4 separate regions of the Homo sapiens genome follow, and regions 2, 3 and 4 are each linked to region 1. The links are contacts of gene promoters, found by promoter capture Hi-C in blood cells and fetal thymus (Javierre and others, 2016). All regions are on one chromosome and are shown on one strand. Each heading gives the region's core, a stretch centred on a gene start or on the middle of the fragment in contact. The rest is flanking DNA. Distances are from core to core; before and after follow the strand shown.

The links. The method cuts DNA at HindIII sites, captures the fragments that hold promoters and counts their contacts. A CHiCAGO score of 5 or more calls a contact.
Region 2: a contact is called between a fragment that was not itself captured here and the fragment with the promoter of FRMD3 in region 1, in 1 of 17 cell types (M2 macrophages). The highest score is 6.7, in M2 macrophages.
Region 3: a contact is called between a fragment that was not itself captured here and the fragment with the promoter of FRMD3 in region 1, in 5 of 17 cell types (M0 macrophages, M2 macrophages, neutrophils and 2 more). The highest score is 9.7, in M0 macrophages.
Region 4: a fragment that was not itself captured here is called in contact with the fragment with the promoter of FRMD3 in region 1 in 5 of 17 cell types (M2 macrophages, M0 macrophages, neutrophils and 2 more); the score reaches 12.5 in M2 macrophages.

Annotation. Positions count from the first base shown.
Region 1 is chr9:83,535,825-83,540,709 of GRCh38, forward strand. FRMD3 (FERM domain containing 3) reads right to left here and starts at 2,577. Exons shown (of 14, transcript NM_174938.6): 1 at 2,261-2,577. The coding sequence starts at 2,407. RefSeq lists a silencer at 530-824. The HindIII fragment of the contact is 8,384 bases long and covers 1-4,885 here.
Region 2 is chr9:83,312,513-83,317,397 of GRCh38, forward strand. FRMD3 (FERM domain containing 3) reads right to left here. Exons shown (of 14, transcript NM_174938.6): 7 at 1,148-1,235. Among named protein-coding and RNA genes, the nearest start is that of FRMD3-AS1, 96 kb to the left of the region's middle. The HindIII fragment of the contact is 4,123 bases long and covers 1-4,042 here.
Region 3 is chr9:83,357,842-83,362,726 of GRCh38, forward strand. The region is part of intron 3 of FRMD3 (FERM domain containing 3); the gene reads right to left. Among named protein-coding and RNA genes, the nearest start is that of FRMD3-AS1, 140 kb to the left of the region's middle. The HindIII fragment of the contact is 1,773 bases long and covers 1,498-3,270 here.
Region 4 is chr9:83,405,382-83,410,266 of GRCh38, forward strand. The region is part of intron 1 of FRMD3 (FERM domain containing 3); the gene reads right to left. Among named protein-coding and RNA genes, the nearest start is that of FRMD3, 130 kb to the right of the region's middle. The HindIII fragment of the contact is 1,095 bases long and covers 1,809-2,903 here.

The sequences.
Region 1 (4,885 bases), core at 1,327-3,826:
ATATACAATCCTTTAACTTTGTAGTTCTATAGAAGGAAGGAAGCAAACACAGATGGATTCACCCAGAACAAGTGCCAGTAATTCCAAATGGTTTTGTTTCGCATTGTTTTTTAATCCTTTTGTTCTCACTCTAAGCAAATGGGAAGTCTTTGTTACCTGATACCCGGAAGGGCAATTTCAATTCCTGGTCTGGAGTACTCTAGGAAAGTGTGAGGTCTAAAGTTATCCAAATAAAATATTTTAATTTATTTTAATTGGTTAAATAATAATTGTAATTTGGGGGCAGAAAGGGCAGAAAAAGACAAATCACAAAATGAAACATCATAATTTTTTAAAAATCAGTGCCCAAGCCAACATTTTGAAACATAACATTTTAACCTCTTTGGCACTAGTTGGGTCATAAGCACTGGAGTTTTTCAAACTGTTGTTAGACTGGCTACAATTTATTGTTTCTCAAAACACAAGACAACAAATACATGTCCTTTGGGGAATATTTATTATTCTAAGGAAGACTTCATCCTGAGGGAGGGGAAAAAAATGTCAACACCAAGTGGTACAGGGCAGAAGAGGGCTGAGAGACAGAGGAGAACTCAACAGCCTCTCTCCCTGACGGCCCCTCCATCATCTACACATTCATTATGGGTTAAAGGACCTGTACACCCACTTTAGGACTTAAAGCAAAGTGCACAGTCCACACTCTCTGGATCACAAGACTATTAGTACATGCCAGATGCTTCTGTGCAACCCTTGTGGCAGTAGAAACACTGCCTATCCTGCTAATCCTTTTATTATTAAGTTTAGCAGTGCTGCTTAGCTCAGAATGAAATTCAAGCTCCCCCAGAAAATTCAATGGGAGCCTACTTTCCTGGGAGATCATGGGGCATCACATTCCTACCTTGACACTTGTCCGGCTGTCAGGTTACAAATTAATTGCAACTGCCCCCAACATGTCACACACTCCCACTAACAAAAATTAAATAAAAATAAAACAGGGAAAGTCCTTTCATTCCTTCATGGTTTGCACAGCCTAGAGGCTGATTCCTACTCTGGGAGATGCTGCCCCACTCACCTCCCACTGACATGGGTGGTGTGCCCTGTATTACACTAAAAAAAAAAAAAAAAAAAAAAAGCTCAGTCCCAGAGCCTCAAGACTCGACTAGGGTAGGTGAGAAAGGAAATCCCAGAGATAAACAGTTAAATAGATTTAGAAGTCAGAAGTTAATTGTGCTGAGCCCTGACACAACCTTTCCTGATTGTGTGCGCACCGAGTGGGGCATCTTTGGGGTCCTGGAAGAGGGGCTCCCACCTGCCTACATATTCACCCACAGCAAATATGCACACGCACGCGCAACCACATGCACACACACACCTTTGCACCTCACACTAGCTCTCCTGACAGCCCAGAGGCACTTACTACCCGAGGACAGGGCTGCCAGCAAAGCTGCCTTCTCCCAAACAACTCGCCTTCTCCTCCAACTTGGGCGACAGTGAATGTCCACCAAGATTCCACGGGGCTCTTTTACCCAGGACCCAGGTTCCTGCAGGGCTCCCCACTTGCTGGCCTCACAATCCCTTTTCCTTTCTCCGAAACACTCAGACTTCACACATTCCTTTCGAGGTAGCTCCAGTCCGGCGCAGCGCGCGCTCCATCCCTCAAGGCTGGCGCCCAGGGCAGCCCGGCCTCTCTCACTCTGGGGAAACTTCGCCACCGCCCCACGCGGAGAACTAAAGACCACCGGCGGAGGGTGAGGGGGACCGACACGGAGCGGAAAGCAGGTTCCGGGACTGAGGGCGTCTCCGGAGCCTGGGCGCGGGAGACAGAAATGAGTGAACCCAGCTGATGCATGCCTTCTCCACGTGGAAGAAGGGAGGAAATACCAGTGGGCGACATGCAGGTGCCCCTCTCAGCCCTCGGAGCTCCCATCTCCTGGCGGAGTAGGGCCCAGAGGGGCCAGAGTCCCTCCGGAGGCAGCTGCCCCGCGCCCCTAGCCCGGGCGCAGTGAGACGCGCGCGCAGGGTGCACGCGAGGGGAAGGAGACTGGGCGCGGATAACGCGTGCCTGGCGCTTGCAGGGCACCATGCCCCTCCATGCCAGGATAAGGCCCCCCACCCTCAGAGGCCTGAGGAATCGAAATCTGGCTTTCTAGCAGTCCCCCAATCCCCTCCGGGAGTGGGTTCCTTGTTCTCGCATGCCCACCGCAAAGGCCCCCCGCCCTGCTCCCGGCGTGTGCCCCGCGCCCTCGCCCGGTTCCACGCGCACCTGGATGTGGCAGGAGATCTCCGAGTCGTCCAGCAGCCGGATGGTGCATCTCATCTCCTGGCTGAGCGATTTGACGCTGGAGCTCCGAAAGTGGATCATTTTCATGGTCCTCCTGCCTCTCGGCACACAGTGGCAGGAGGCGAACATGCACCGCGGCCGTGGGGAGCGAGCGGGAGGCTCAGGGCCGGCGCGGTGCTCGCCTGCGCGGACACACACGCTCGCACGCACTGTCCGGGACACCTGGGCGCGGCTCAGCCCCGGGACATCGGCAGCGTCGGGCGCCTGCGGACACACATGCCCAGCGGCCGGGGCGCGGCGGGCGGGTCCCTCCCTCTGTTCGCTCGCCTCCGCCTCGCCCCCTCCTTTCCCCGCCTCCTTCTGTCGCGCGCGCTCGTGCGCCTCCCTCTGCCCGGGCTCGCTCGCCGAGGACGCCCAGAGCCTGAGACCCCCGGCGGGCTCGCGACGCACTCACTCCCACGCGCGCCGAGCAGCTGAAGGAGGAGGCGGAGGGATGGCTGGCGCGGCTGGCCCGGGTGCCCTGGTGGTGGCCTGCTCAGTCGCAGCCGCCGCTGCGTCAAGCTGGGCCCGACTGCCTTCCTCAGCCTCACCGCCTCCTCCCTCCCCTGGCCGCTGTCGCTCGGGCTCCCGGTTGTGCTCGTCCCGGCCCCGGCTCCCCAACGCGCTCGACAGCGCCCTGCTCTGCTCAGCTCCAGGGACCTGGCGCGGGTAGGGGACGGAGAGCGATCCTGACCCACACCGCCAGGGGGATTCCGCCTCGGGAAAGGATTGCTGGGCCCAGGGCGAGTGACAGAGAGAGTGACAGCCCTGACACGGCTACACCAGGAATATCGCTAATAGTAAAAATCTCTGGTACTCATGGAGATTGTTTAAGCCATTGTTTTATTTAATGCTAGCTAGGACTCAGTCTCTTTCTCCAAAAAAGAGCCTTCCATGTGCAAATCCTCCTTTAAATCTCCCAACATCTTAGTGTGATCTTTGATAGCATACCTTTGACCCGAGCAAGAGGGATAGGTTCCTATCCTACTCCCCTGCTTTACAGACCTCCTCCAGTTCCCGGTTGCTCAGGAATTAAGAGGTCTAATGGCAAAGCGGATGTGCCCCATCCCGTTTTAGTCCAATCTCTGGGTATTGAGGACTCTGGAATTCCCCACGCGCCTCCAGGGTGTTGAAGGTAGGAGGTATCCTGCCTCTCTGTTGTCCCCAAGGTGGCTAGAGCCACTGTGTCAGGTACCGTAGGCCCGAGAGTGGCCAGGAGCAGCTGTTGAGTCAGGGGTATGGAGCTTGAATGTGAGCACTAGAATGTCCAGGAGCTGGGAGAGATGGAAGTCCTCTCACCCTGTTGCTCTTGCCGGAGCAGAACAGGTCATTAGGAAGGAACATTTGTTAGAAGAGGAGGTGTTGACCAGCTGTCAGCTTTTTCAAGGTTTGTGCCTGCATAGAGTCCCCTCATCCAAAGATATGCCCTGTCCTGGGGGTCGAGGAAGAGTGGCACACAAATTTTACCTGCCCTGGACAGTCTGGTGGGCCATATATTCTCTAGGACACCTAGTGGGGTTGGCTAAGGTTTGGGGGAGTCCGCATTGCATTTGGACTTCTCTCTCTGCCTGCTCCTGCCTCCTCTCCCTGTTGATCACTAATAAATACCACACAGGACAAACTCAGTCTCAGTATCTGCTCCTGGAAATTCCAAATTGCAACAATTTGTCAAGATAGGAGGATAGAGAATGTTTTATGTAGCACTCAATAGCTGACTATTGCTTATGAATATTTAGATGATAGTATGGGGCATTCATGTAGGCTCTTGAGCTGGGCCCTTCAAATGTTAGGGCAGATCCTGATGGAGAGGTCAGTATTGAGGGTATGGGAAGATGTGGATTTCATTCTTGGCCCAGCTACTGGCTAATCCTGGGGATCTTTGAAAAGTCTCTCCATTTCTTTTCTCATTTCAAAGGAGAGAACACCTGTTCATCCCACAGGTGGCTGGGAAGCTGGTATGACACCGGGTCAGTGGAGGACATCTTACAGCTGTAATCTGTAAATCCCCATATGCACATATGAGGTGGCAGGGATGGGACCTGCCCCAAGTTGAAAACTGGATCATCTCTGCTAGCCAAAAGAGCAGACAGCCCAGAGATCAAAGAAAAGTCACCAGCCAAACAGTCCATGCTTTTCTTTTAAGACCACACACACACTTGTCCATCCTATTATAGTGACCGTTAGGCTCCAAAAGAGTCATATCAATACCCAAAAATTGTTACCCCAAATTCCAAGGAAGCAAAATAAGACCAACAAGGACAGTAGTGAAAAAGACAGAATAAAGATAACCCAATGTGGGACTGTAAGAAACAGAATTTTGAAGAAATGAGAAGAATCTGAGATTGGTTGTCTGGCCTGATTAGGAATAAAGGCTGAGATTCAACTAGTATGAAAATACAGGCTCTGGAAGCACTTGGCATGACAGCTAGGTAAATTACCAAGTATGGTCACCTGGATTGAACTACCCAATGAAGACAAGGCTCTGGGAAACCAACTGGCCATTGTCAACAATAATAATAATAATATGAAGATTAGGAAGAACTCAAAGAATGAACTCAAGGGATGAGT
Region 2 (4,885 bases), core at 731-3,230, 220 kb before region 1:
TCAAGTCAGTCTCCAAGAAATAAATAAAATACAGTTCAAATTTCTGCATAAAATTCACTAAAATGAATAAACTGATTAGTACCATTCTAGGAAAGAGCCGCTGGTAAATATTCCAACATTTGCGTAGGCAGAACAAGAGGATGTAAATGCTAGTATGGACAAGTACCCCTGGCTCTCCGCCTTGGCTGCACATTGGAAACACCTGGGTAGCCTGGTCGCCGCACCCACCACTCCCCCTCCGCCGCCCTGCGCCCCGCCCCGCCCTCCTCCCCAGCAGATCCTGACGTAATTGGTGTGGGATGTGTTCTGGTCAGCAGGTGCTAATGAAGCTCTCCAGGTGTTTCTAATGAGCAGCCCAAGCTGAGACCTATAGGACTAATGCTTTGCCAAATAAGATTAGGCAGTCCAATCTGGGTAAAGAAATTTGCCACTAAAACTCCAAAACTTATACTTAAGAGCCTAACTGATAAAATGCTTAGTTTAGGATTAGGACTAGTGTCTGGCTGATGCATAGTCTAATATATGGAAAGAAGAACGTTGCTTCAGTGAAACATTTCTGGAAAATGTATCTATAAGTATCACACCTTGGGAGCTTGATTAAAAAGGCAGATTCCCCAGTTGTACCCCCAGAATTCTGATTTAGTAGCTCTGGGGTGAGGTCCAGGAGATTCTGATATAAGTAGTCTGTGTTTCATCCTTGAGAGAAACACTGTCAAATATGAGTAAAGGAAAAAATAAAAACAAGTGTTCCTAATGCCAAAATGCAACTTGAAATCTTTCTTTTTTTTCCTTCCACTTTCCCATTTTTTAAAGACTCCATTCTTGCTGGCAATGGCCTTGAAAGTAAATGTGTCAGGAGCCTGTAACTCCTCAGGGGCCAAACCATCCATTTGATGAGTGAATCCATGGATGTTAATTTAGGAAAATATGGCTACTACATGGCAATCAATGAACAATTGGAAGACTCCAATGGAGAAAATCAGCTGCCAAAACATGTAACAGCAGCCCACTGTTGTCCCTTCCAATGAGGGACCGTGGGCCAAGCTGTGGGAAAGATTTAACAAGGCTCTGCCAGGCCTGCGCACAGATAAACTCTCTTTTGGGCAAAACAACCATTATATGGTGACCTGCTGTGAGGGGCAGTTACCTTGCATGGGTGAGGATCCACCCCGTAGGTTTCCAAAGTGTGAGCTTTCAGGAGCAAGTTAAATTCAGCAACTGGTGGGCTCTGCCCCCTAAAATCACACAAGAAAAGTTGAGGCAGTTAAAATGGAAAAGAATAGAAACTCGGAATCCCTTCATTCAATAAAGTATGGTGTTCTAAGCTAAATAAAGAGAAAAACCCTTACATAAATAGTAATCAGTAAGACTGATCATTATTTCTCACCACAAGGAGTCCTTTACTAAGGAACCCGAGCTTGTGTTCTCTAGTTAATTGTTCCATAACAAACCCACACGCACTCTGAGCGCTCCAGTGATCCGTACAGTTAATCAAGGTTATCAAGTTACCAATAAGCAGGCCCTTGCAAATTCAACCTTAATACGAAATAAAACTAATCATCTGTTCTTTCTGCTAATTTAAAAACATTATCCAGGTTAAATGGCATGCCTTCTTGCTCAGGGAAAAAAATGCACAATCCTGTTACCCCATCAACAAGCCTAAACAGAGCCATCAAGGCCAAAAGAATTGTCAACCATCCCACAGAGAGCCCTGGACTTCAAAAGGAAATCTCAACCACTAGTCCTAGCACTGTCCTGCGAGGTGGTAAACAAGGTCTTGGCCTCAGGGAGAAAAGGGCTGCAAATATAGATGACCGCGAAGCCCTTTCAGGGCTAACATCTAAAGAAAGACTATGCAACATTTCAAAGACCCCACTTTGACTAATATTAATATCCTACATGTATTTTAGAGAATCTCAATCATTCCCCAAGGATATTTATGTAATTCTAGCAACCAAGCAGAGAAAACAACAGGAATTCATTTTATTTTCAAAATGTAAAATTATATTGCAATATTAAATCTATCTCCACTTAACTTCCTTCCCAAAGACGGATTGTCCCCCCACCCCCTCAAGATAGCAAAGAGTCATCATACCTCTAAATCAAAACAGTATCCCATCTACTTTATTCCTAGAGCCCTTCACAATCTCTTTACCTTTAGTGCACTGGAGTTACACTGATACGTCTGAAGTCACTGTGGTATGTCTAGGGAGCATCTTTATTTATTCATCATGATCCGCACAGTGTAGATCCTTTTAATCCAACAATGCATATCTTTCTTTGACTATTTCTTGATTCTTTTCTTCCCTTCCCCACTTCCTCCACCACTCTCTCTCTCTCCCACTCTCTCTCTTATCTCCTTTGAGAGGCCCTAATAAATGGGTCTTGAAACTTCTAGGTCCTAGGTCTTTTAATCTTTGTTTCATTCTTTATATCTCTGTCTTTTGGTACTATGCTCTGAATTATTTCTTAATTCAAATGTCCAGCCTGCTAATTTATTCTTCAGCTGTGCACATTCTGCTGCTTCTGTCATTGATATGTTTTTTTTTTAAATATCAATGAAATATTTCATTTCCAATGTAATATCTATGTGGATCTTCAAATAGCAGCCTGTTCTCAGCTCATGATCATGAATTCCTCTTATCCCTCTGAGGGTACCACTTCATTTCTATTAAGGTCCAATCTTGTTGGCTGCATTAATGCTGCTTTCTTGGTGAAGGTCATTTTGTATGCTGACTCAGAGTCTGTAATTTGTGGAGCTGATGTTTCCTTAAGTGTTTGGTGATTCCTGTTGGACTCTCATTTTTATATTTGATGTATCAGCCTCCAGAGGTTGAGGGAAGAGTGGGATGTGCCGTGTGGAACAGCATGTGATATGATTTGGATTTGTGTCCCCACCCAAATCTCATGTCGAATTGTAATCCCCAACGTTGGAGGAGGGGCCTGGCGGGAGGTGATTGGATCATGGGGGCAGATTTCTCCCTTGCTGTTCTCGGGATAGTGAGTCCTCACAAGATCTGGTTGTTTACAAGTGTGTAGCACCTCCCCCTGCTCTCTCTTCCTCAGGCTCCAGCCACATAAGATGTGCCTCCTTCCTCTTTGCCTTCCACCACGTTTGTAAGTTTCCTGAGGACTCTCCAGCCATGCTTCCTGTTCAGCCTGTGGTACTGTGAGCCAATTAAACCTCTTAATTACCCAGTCTTGTGTAGTTCTTTATAGCAATGCAAGAACAACTAATACAACATGTATCAGTAACTTGACTGGGGGCCGAAGGTTCTAGTTCTAGGCACGCACACCGGGTACCTTCCGCTCAAGCCTGCTGCTGCCCATGACTCAGCACAAAGCAACCAGAGGGAGGGGTCAAAGTTGTCCACTTGCTTCAAATGTAGTTGCCCACTCACTGTGATGGCTGTTGTGTGTATTCCTGGAGGCACCCAGAAACCCAGAACCACTGCTATTCTAAGTCTGTGTCTGGCCTGGATCCCTTCTGTTTCCTATCTTCCACAGATGTTGCAGGATTTCTGATCCAAAGATGATATTTTCTCCTATTCCTTTTCTAATGCTTTTCCTGTTATCCATAAGGACTCGGTGAAGGAAAGGAAGATTGACATATATGCCACCTTATTCTTTTTTCTCTTTTTTTTTTTTCTTTTTTTTTTTTTTTGAGACAGAGTCTCACTCTATTGCCCAGGTTGGAGTGCAGTGGTGCAATCTCAGCTCACTGCAACCTCTGCCTCCCAGGTTCAAATGATTCTCCTGCCTCAACCTCCGGAGTAGCTGGGATTACTGGTGCCCGCCACCACACCCAGCTAATTTTTGTTTTTAGTAGAGATGGGGTTTCGACATGTTAGCCAGGCTAGTCTTGAAGTCCTGATCTCAAGCAATCCACCTGCCTCAGCCTCCCAGAGTGCTGGGATTGCAGGCATGAGCCACTTCACCTGGCCACCTTTTTCTTTTAATAGAAAAGATCATTTTTAAAGCCATCTACAGAATACTCCTGAGGAATTAAGTCAAATTTGTGCTTTAGAAAAATAAAGTCTAAAGCTTTTCAAGATTTCCTTATTCATTTTAGTGTTCTGAAATTTCACTGTGATATATGTATATAGAGAATATCTTTATGTATTCATCCCAATCAGTACTTGTGGGCACTTTCGATCCAGCAATTACTATCTTGGGCCATTTCTTTGATTCTTTTCTTTTCAAGACACAGTCATTATAATTTTTTCCTTTTGATAAAGTAACAATGGACTCAGGAAAATTAACAACTATATTGACAGGGATGGGAAAAGAGATCTCTGGAAGGTTTTCTTAATCCATATGGTATTTCTCTCTCCATCTCTCTCATAAGTTCTTGAAGTAATATCTTACTCTCCACCAACAAATAAACCATACAGAAAATTATTGAAGTCAGGCTTGGTGCAGTGGCTCATGCCTGTTATCCCCACACTTTGGGAGGCTAAGGTGGGAGGATCACTTGAGCCCAGAAGTTCAAAACAAGCCTGGCAATGTAGCAAGGTCACTTCTAAAAAAATTTTTTTTTAAATTAGCCAGATATTGTGCACTATGATCGTGCCACTGTCCTTCAGCCTGGGTGGCAGAGCAAGAAAGATCCTGTCTTAAAAAAAAAATACAGAAAACAAACTTATTGAATTCACATATTATTGAGCCGTCTCTCATGCATACACACACACACACACACACACACACACACACACTCATTTGTATACTCATCTCACCTTCCCAACTAGGGACAAAGCAGTCAAAATACCCAGCATGTCACTAAGCAGCAACCCACTCTTCTGGCCCTCAATGCAAAACTTCACCCTAACGACCCAGACCAAGACCAAAGTGAACCAGGACCAGAGCCAAAGCAGCCCTGTGCCTC
Region 3 (4,885 bases), core at 1,134-3,633, 180 kb before region 1:
AGATTGTGAAGATTGTCTCCCACTCTGTGGGTTGTCTGTTAACTCTGCTGATTATTTATTTTTTGTGCAGGAGTTTTTCAGCTTAATTAAGTCCCATATATTTATGTTTGTTTTTGTTGCACTTGCTTTTGGGTTTTTGGTCATGGAGTCTTTGCCTAACCCAATGTCTAGAAGGGTTTATCCCATGTTATCCAATGCTACCTTCTAGAATCTTAATGGTTTCAGGTCTTAGATTTAAGTCTTTGATCCATCTTGAGTTGATTTTTGTATAAGGTGAGAGATGAGGATCCAGTTTCATTCTTCTATATGTGGCTTGCCAATTATCCCAGAACCATTTGTTGAACAGGGTGTCCTTTCCCCACTTTACGTTTTTGTTTGCTTTGTTGATCAGTTGGCTGTAAGTATTTGGCTTTATTTCTTGGTTTTCTATTCTGTTCCATTGGTCTATGTGCCTATTTTTATACCAGTACCATGCTGTTTGGTGACTATGACCTTATAGTATATAGTTTGAAGTCGGGTAATGTGATGCCTCCAGATTTTTTCTTTTTGCATAGTCTTGCTTTGTCTATGTGGGCTCTTTTTTGGTTCCATATGGTTTTTAGAATTGTTTTTTCTAGTTATGTGAAGAATGATGGTGGTATTTTGACGGGAATTACACTGAATTTGTAAATTGCCTTCGGCAGTATGGTCATTTTCACAATATTGATTCCATCCATCCATGAGCATGGGATGTGTTTCCGTTTGTTTGTGTTGTCTATGATTTCTTTCAGCAGTGTTTTGTAGTTTCCCTTGTAGAGGTCTTTCACCTCCTTGGTTAGGTATATTCTTAAGTATTTATTTATTTATTTATTTATTTATTTATTTATTTATTTGTAGCTATTGTGAAAGGGATTGAGTTCTTGATTTTATTCTCAGCTTGGTCACTGTTGCCTATATTCCTGTTGTGCACATGCCATGCACAGTGATGCCAATGGATTCAACTGTGCTGCATTCAATAATGATATGGTTCGAAAGCACAAACTACCTCTGCACATATGCAAAATGACGCTTGAGCACCTAAAGGGGAGAACATTGCTCACTCATTCTCCAACTGTGACTCTAGAAATATGTGTAAATAAGCCAGCCACAGAGAGTGCAGGCTGCATTCATGACTGCTCTCTTCTACATGGAAATGATTATAATCATTAAACAACAACTGTTACTATCAGCATCATCAGCAACAGTGATGATCCTTCCCCCACTCTTACTGAAATGATAATCACTGTGTTTCCCCAGCTTCCAAAGCAGAGACAGGTTTTTAAAATCATGTTTAATTCATCTTCCTCTCGTTACAGTTCCCTCCTATGCTTTTATCACACACAGGCATGCCCACCCACACTCGTAGGCACTGACTACAGTCACTCAGAGAACTCTCTTAAGGGAGATTGGAATGCTGAGTGGTTGCCTCACAAATCCTTGGTCTCTGAATTCTCTTCCTGCCTATGCCTGCTCAGGAGAAGCTTGAAAAGAGACTTTGGGGTCCCATACTTCTAACCTCAAGTTTGTCATTTGAACAAATTGCTGCGTCCAAACTTAAAACTCCCTGCCTCCATTTCCTCATCTGTAAAATGGGAATAATAATGGAACCAACCACAGAGAGCAGGGCATCAAACTTTCTCTGTAAAGGGCTAGAGAATAAATATTTTCAACTTTGGAAGGCTCGAGTTTTCTGTCTCAACGACTCCACCCAGTTGTTGTAGTAGAGAAGCAGCCACCACCAATACATAAACAAGTGTGTATAGCTGTGCTCCAATAAAACACTGAAGTTTGAATTTGTATCATTTTTGTATGCCACAAAAATCTTATATATCTTTTGGTTTTTTTCAACCATTTAAAAATGTGAAACCTATTCCTAGACCAAAGGCCATATGAACATAGGTGGTGACTAGGTGTGGCCTGCGACCCGTCGTAGAGACCACAATGAGGATGACATGAGTTCATGACTGCGTAGAGACCACAATGAGGATGACATGAGTTCATGACTGCAAAGCACTTCGCAGCCTGCTGAGACCTGTGGACTGAATGCATAGGAATTATTGTTACTCTAAAGTGCAGGGAAGAAACCAACATGGCTAAAGTCAAGTCCTTCAATGTTACCTTGCCTTTTACCTGGGTTGAAAGAGTGAGGGGGCACTGTCATCTCTCAGGGAGGAGTGAGGAAGAAGTGGGCATGAGACAGGTGTGTATATGAAGAGATATTTGGCAGCCCTGGCATCTAAAGGACAGCTTTGCTGCCTGAGCCGAGGGTACAATGACCTAAACATTTTAGCCAAAAGGTTAGCAAGAACACATGAAACTGAAGGCAAGAGACCCAGGAACCTGTTTGCTGCTGATGTTGTATAACTAGCCAGACCCTTGGAGTCATGTTGATAGGTGTAAATCAATATGTAGAAATAACAACTGTAACAGAAAAATTCAACTACTTACATAACTTGGTATTGAGATTTGATACTATAAAGTTGCATCCAAAAATCAGGCATTATAAAGGCTCTCCCACCAAAGGGAGACATGAACAAAGCCTTCCTACCCACTTGGCCCACACTTGAACCACCTCTAGTACTCACATACCGAGCATGGAACCTCCTGCCCATCATGGTTATCATTCAGACACTCATGCTGCCAGCATGTGTAGTTTTGAGTCGTGTGGGCCCCTAAGAAAGAATGCGGGCATTCCTGAAGGAAGAAGAAAGCCCCTGAAAGTACTGCCCCAGAGATATAAGGACTTCCCCCAGGAGAGGCTCCTATTCCTTCTGCTTCCTCCACTACCCCTGTCACACTACCCCGCTTCCCACGAGGAGTGCTAGGTACTCCCTGAAACCCCTGCACACACTACTGCACCCAATCAAAATGATGTCAGTGTTGCCACCAACCATTGCATAAGCATAAAGTTAAAAATTAGAAATCTATGGCTTGTCAAGTGTGCACATCATTTAGAACTGCATGCTATAAAATTAAGGGTTTTTGTCATTACTATTGTTACTGTCCTCTCCTTCCATATTGGGAAACAAAGAAAGAGCACAACATGGAAACCATTTATAGGCTCAAATTGCATTAACTTTCTGGGAGAAGGATCAAATATAAAAATTTTGATGAACAGTTGAACTTGGTAGAATAACAGATACCTGGCCCAACCTAATGAGCTGTCTCTAGAACAAGGTAAGCAAACAGGTGTCCAACGCTGGAGACACTCCATGGCTGAAACAAAAATCATAGCTGCTCTTCTTGGAAAGAAGCTTTGGAAGAAGAAAACTGGGAAGAACAAAGGCATCCAAAACTAAACCATAGTACTTGGGGACTTTGTACTTTTTGATTTATGTAATGAGCTGTGTTCAGTTGTATGTTTTGCTTTTTTTTGTAAAAAAATAGCATTTGAACTTCCACCTGTGCTGTAAAAAGAGCATTTTAATCCTAGTCAGAAAGCATTTATTATGAATCAATAACATGCATAACATTTTATACAAAGCCATGGAACAGGTGAAGAAATTTTCCAAACCCAGTGCTGGAGATTATGATTAGACAAGTAGGTTATACGAATGAGGATGATAGCATAGGCTGCCCCTCACTCTGGAGGCAGGGTTACAGCCACAACAGGGATTGGAAGAAATGAATTGTGCAAAGCTTTACTGTCAAAAGCATGTGACCAAGGTCAGCAAAACAGAACAACATACACAAAGGGGGCTAGAGGTAGTAAGCTAAAGAAAGAGGCTAAAGAAAAATGCTGAGAGTACTGGAGATCTAAAAAACCCATGTCCACCTAGAACCTCAGAATGGAACCCTATTTGGAAATAGGGTCTTTGTAGATGTAATTGATTAATTAATTACAATGCATTCATATTAGGTTAGGGTGGTCCCTAAATCCATTGACTGATATCTTTATAAGAGAAAGGAGAGTGAGACTTTGACACAGGGCACAGAGAAACATAGGGAGGCACCATGTGAAGATGGAGGCAGAGTGTGGAGTGAGGCAGCTACAAGCCAAGGAAGGCCAAGGACTGCAGGAAACCAGCAGAAGCCAGAAAAGGCAGGAAGCATTCTTCCCTAGAGCCTTCGGAGGGAGCATGGCCCTGCTGACAACTTGGTTTCAGACTTCTGGCCTCCAGAACTGTGAGCAAGTAGATTTCTATTGTTTTAAGCCACCCAGTATGTGATAATTTATTATGGATGCCCAGAGAAACTAACACACTCAGCAAGGGGAAAACTGGAAGAACAAGTAGAGTTGAGAGTCAATCATCCAAGCTGGCCTCATGAGTATGAGACCTGTGGCTTTACACCAGAGCAAAATCGATGCTGTTGGTTCTCTCTCTCTCTCTCTCTCTCTCTCTCTCTCTCAATCTCAATCTCAATTTCCTATTGACAAAAAATCATTCATTAGCAAGAGAGCTATTTGTTAGATTAGCCCCAAGGGGGATGTTGGAAAGCTAATGAATGAGACATAAACATGAAGTACCAAGACTATCACCATCAAAGTCAGGAATTCCACACCATCCCAGGTTTCCAGGGAGTGCCATCACAACTTCTGAGCACCACTGTCATCAGCCAGCAACAACTTGACTCAGTACTGCTATTATGGCTGAGTTGTATGCATGTGTTATGCAGAGGCTGGGGGTTCCTGCCTACCCTGATTTGCATGCAGAAGCCATTTCCAAGCACCCCTGCCCCTTCAGGGTGCTTGGGAGCAGCACAGTCTCTGGTAAATAGGGCAAGAATAGGATCTTAACTACCTTGCTGTGCTAATCAGGCCTCAGACAGGCACCAGCCAGGATTAAGTGGAGAGCTTGTTTAGAAGAGTAAGTGAGCTTTCTTTCATCTCAGTCTGTTTCTATAGAACATGCTTAATGCATATGCA
Region 4 (4,885 bases), core at 1,106-3,605, 130 kb before region 1:
CATCTGAACCCAATCAGCTGGGTCCCCTAAAAGTTGCATCATGGGATGAGGAAGGAGCGGTTCTGGGATACAGAGAGAAGGATTGAAAGTATCCATAGAGCTGGGCACAGTGGCTCACACCTGTAATCCCAGCACTTTGGGAGGCCGAGGCAGGTAGATCACCTGAGGTTGGGAGTTCGAGACCAGCCTGACCAACATGAAGAAACCCCATCTCCACTAAAAATGCAAAAAAAAAAAAATTAGCCGGGCATGGTGGCACATGCCTGTAATCTCAGCTACTTGGGAGGCTGAGGCAGGAGAATTGCTTGAACCCGATCTTGTGGTGAGCCAAGATCGCGCCATTGCACTCCAGCCTCGGCAACAAGAGCGAAACTCAGTCAAAAAAAAAAAAAGAAAGAAAGTGTCCATCATCTCCCTCCAAGCCCATGCCTGCAGTGAGGGTGGGACCAGAGCTGGCAGAGGTTTTTAGTTTGACAGTTTGTTGGAGTAGGGCTGAGCTGCATAATTGGTTCTTACTTTCCGTCCTGACGAAAATTCTGCCAATTTTACTCGGTCACAGATTAAAGCAAACAGTAACTTGTGTTTCATTTCACATAGGCAATTTCTTTTTTTTTTCCAGCAATTCTATCACATTCCATTCTCCCTTCCTACTGCCCCCTAGCATACATACTGAGAATTTGGCTGTGCCACTAATGCAAGGCAGCTGGGGTTGGAAATCAGAAAGCAGATAAACAGCATTGCTAAGGAGCTGCAGGAGTCTTCGGATCTCACAGAGCACAGAAAGTAGTCCTCTGAGTCTTCTGCCTCCAGTCACTAACACCAATCTTCCCTGCTTTCCCCTCCCTCCGTCCACCCACACCTCCTAGTTCCCATCTCCTTCTGTGAAGGGCCTCCCAATCTTTTCTTCCCATCATCATGGCCACAAGTTAGAAGATGAGAAGGAGAAAAGTCAAAGGCTACTAGAGCCAAGGAATTCCTCACAATGAACTGCAGTGTCTGGAGGACCAGTTGGGTAGCCTTACTCCGGGTCTCCACTGCAGAACTTATACATATATGCTTTGTGCACACAAAGAAAAACAGCAGCCCAAAGATTCCAGCTAGGGCTCTTAGGATGGAGGAAAGTTCCCACAGGTAACTCACTGGTTAATTTTAAAGAGCTCAGGAAAGGAAGGAAGGATGGCTTTTTCTCTTGTGAGTCAAGACAAGGTCCTGATGATAACCCTCCCAGATCAGAACGTAACTTTCAACCCACGAGTGCTGCTCCCCCAAGTTATATGCATCATCTCAGAGAGTTGGTTCCTTGCCATTGGGCAATTGACATGTTGTCAACGGGTCCTTATTTGGTGGTCAGTAAATGTTAGCCAGCATCGGTGAGGACACAGCCCATAGAAGAGAGCAGAGAAATCCAGAAATGTAAACTGTATGTATCTCTTCTTCAAGTTGCTGGGTTTTATTTTGTTGTTGTTCCTGTTGTTGTTTTCTGTTTAATTTATTTTCCATATTTTCCTCCAGTTTATTTTATCACTCCAAATACTCCGCAAAATGCCCCACCACCATGGTTGGTTTCACTCTTGCCATTCCCCTGTGTGAATAAAGCCCTTCTCACCACCTATCAAAATTTTGTCACTGATGTGTTCACCTGATCCTGGCAGAGAGTTCGCTGCAGATCCTGCTTCTGCATGAGAGGCCTCACAGACTCCCCACACCCTCGCTGACCTTTCTGTCCTCTGACCTCATTTGGAAATGGATGAAATACTGTCACGGTCATTTCTCATGATGGTGTAATTCCAGTTTCATCACTTATCTTAAGCTTCCTTTTCTCAAGTGAACTTATTTTTCATCAAGTTTTTCATTGTACTTTACAGGATAATTTGTACACACAGTAAATACTTGGTACAAATATTCATTAAACCATAACAAAGCACCATTTTTACCTATCCACTTCCCAAATCCAAAAATTCTAAAAATGGCCAACCCCAACAAGGATATAATGGTGGAATTGCATACTACTAGAAGTCTAAATTATGGGAGAAAATTGTGTAGATATAACTTAGGGAATTTTTAATCTCTGTATTTCCCCCAGCCTCCACTCCCACTTTAAAAAGGCATTCGGCTCCACAATCCCTACCCTCCTTGGAGGCTATATGTAGCAGAATGAAAATTAGTAGCTGGTGAGACCTCTTGGATTTTGTTTTCATATGTCTAAATCCACTGAGAATAGAATATGAGAAGTGTTCTAGTTATCTGTTCCTGTGTAACAAGCCACTCTAAAACATAGGAGCAAAAACCAATAAGTATTCTCTCACAGTTCTTTGTATTGACTGAGCTCAACTGGATGGATCTTGTCTGGGTTCCTCTATATTACTGGAGTCTGATGTGGAAGCAACTGAAGATTTCTTCACTCACATGTCTGGTGCCTAGACTGGTCTGGCCAGCAGAGGAGGGGGGTTGTTGAGTCTCTCTCTCTCTCTCTCTCTCTCTCTCTCTCTCTCATCTTTCTCTCTCTCTCTCTCTCTCTCTCTCATCTTTCTCTCTCCCTCCCCTTTCTCTTTCTCTTTCTCTCCATGCAGCTCTCCATGTGTGTAGCTAGCTTGGGCTTCCTTACACCATGGCAGTCTCCAGGAAGCCAGACTTCTCCATCAGCAGCCAGCCTCCTGCAAGATGAGCATTCCCAAAGGGTCCAGGCAGAGGTTGCTTTTCACACATTGTCACTTCCACTGCATTCTACTGATTACAAGTGAGTCACTATGGCCAACCTGGATTCAAGGGAAAGGGAATTAAACATGTCCTCTCAACGAGATGAAAGCAAAGAATGTATGGCTATCTTTATTTAATGTGCCACAGGGGAATAAAAGATTCTTCTTTCAGATTAAAACGAAGAAAGGAACAAGCTGTATGAACCAAGCTTGCTCCCTGGATGTGCTCTGTGTTGGCACAAGGATATTCGGGAGGAAAAATATGGTCTATCTAGGAAAAAAAAAATATCACAAACATGGGGCTTTCTGCCCTCACCAGGTTGTCATGTCCTAAGAACCCCCACTGGGCCCAAGGGTCAGGCTGATGTGGACATCTAGCCAATAATGAACATGCCTCCCTCCCATTTCTTGGCACCCAGTGAGACTCCAGAAACTAGGCACAACCCCCAGGTGGGGGAAAGTTCAGAAAAGACACATGAAAATGTTTCCAGCTACCCCAGGGGGAAAGGGGCTTGATATGAAAACTAGGTTGATTTATGGAAAATAGATTACTGTATCTCTTCCAGCCTGGGTTTGGGAACTGACCTTGGTGTCAACCCCTAAATTTTATTTCTTCTGACTTGACTCTTCAGTGAAGTCATTCTGCCTCTCAGGTTGAGCCTTCTGCATCCTCTCCTTTCATCACTAATTACCAGAGCAGAGTTAAGCTGCTACCACAGGCACCCTCGGACACAATCCATGCAGAAACACGTGAACTGGAAGATTAACCATTCAGGTGCAGGGAAGATGGTGGGGAGACCACACACAGCTCAATTTGGAAATGGATTTCCCATTCCCTCCTGAGAAAGAGGCGAGAAGGAAGAGAGCAGCAACCCTGCCAGAGCCAACATAGTGTGCAATCCATTGTCCTGAAAGTCTACCCAGGCAGCTCAAAGAATGCTGCGATAAATTACATACACCTCTCTATTGCCCCCAAAGAATCAGTTCCATGCAGGTCAGCAGCATACTCGGGAAAGCAAAGGTTGTCCATCCCCAGGCATGGAGGTCAACCTTTTCTCCACCAGGTTCCCAGAATGCAGCCCCATTTGAGGTGGGATGTGATGCAGAAGGCTCATGAAGATGTTAAAAGCACACAGTATCAAACTCAGGACAAGAAGGAAGCCAGGCGCATTGAACTGAATGCTCGCTCTCAATATTGCATGTTACTGTTCAAAAATGGGATCAGCTCCCCACTCTTCCCGTCCTTAACTTTCAAGTTCCCTTCTAGCATTTATCAAACTGGTCTTTTATTTATTAAGCTCCTAATTGCTCTCCAGATGAGGCTCTCTGCCTTGTAACCCAACTTCTGCCTTCCATCAAAAACAAACAAACAAAAAACCACTCCATCAGCACAGGGAAACCTTGACTAGCTTTTCCCCACGTTAGTTCAGAGGATGGACAAAAACTTTTGAAAAAGAATGTGAGACTCTTCAGAGGAAATTGGCCACAGCAAATGCTTGTGTATGATTACAACCACCCAAATTTCTTAATAAGAGCAAACATTTTTAGCACATATTATGTGCCAGACACTGTGCTGAGCCATTTACATATATTAGCTCGTTAATACAGTCTCTCTGGTAGATAGTAAGATTATTATTCCCACTTTGCAGATGGGAAAATGTATGCTCAAGCAACAAATAAGAGCTGGACCCAGGACATGAACTCTCTTCTGTGCCTCTTTAAAGCTTCTGCTCTTTTCCACCAAGTCACTGGTCCTCAAACATTGGTGTGCATACTCTGAGAACACTTCTTTTTCAATAAGCTCTTCCGTTTTCCAACCAACCGGTCTGTCACAGTTTTCCTGAGCATTCCCTGGATCAAGTGTGAAACTGATGGACAGATACATGCATGCCCAGCCCTCAATGCCATTTCTACCAGCAGCCTTTCCTCCAGGTCAGACGACTCCTAATCTTGCTTTCATCAGACAAGGGGCAAAATCATCCCTGTGTCTTACTGCTTTTTAGCAATATCCTTCCTTTCACACATGGAAGAACCAGGAAACCCTAAATTCTCTCTTTTTAAATTAATTAATTTACTTTTAAAAATGATTTCCACATTTATTTTAGATTCTGGGTTTGTTACCCGGGAATACCGCATGATGCTGAGGTTTGGGGTATGACTGATCCCATCACCCAGGTACTGAGTATAGT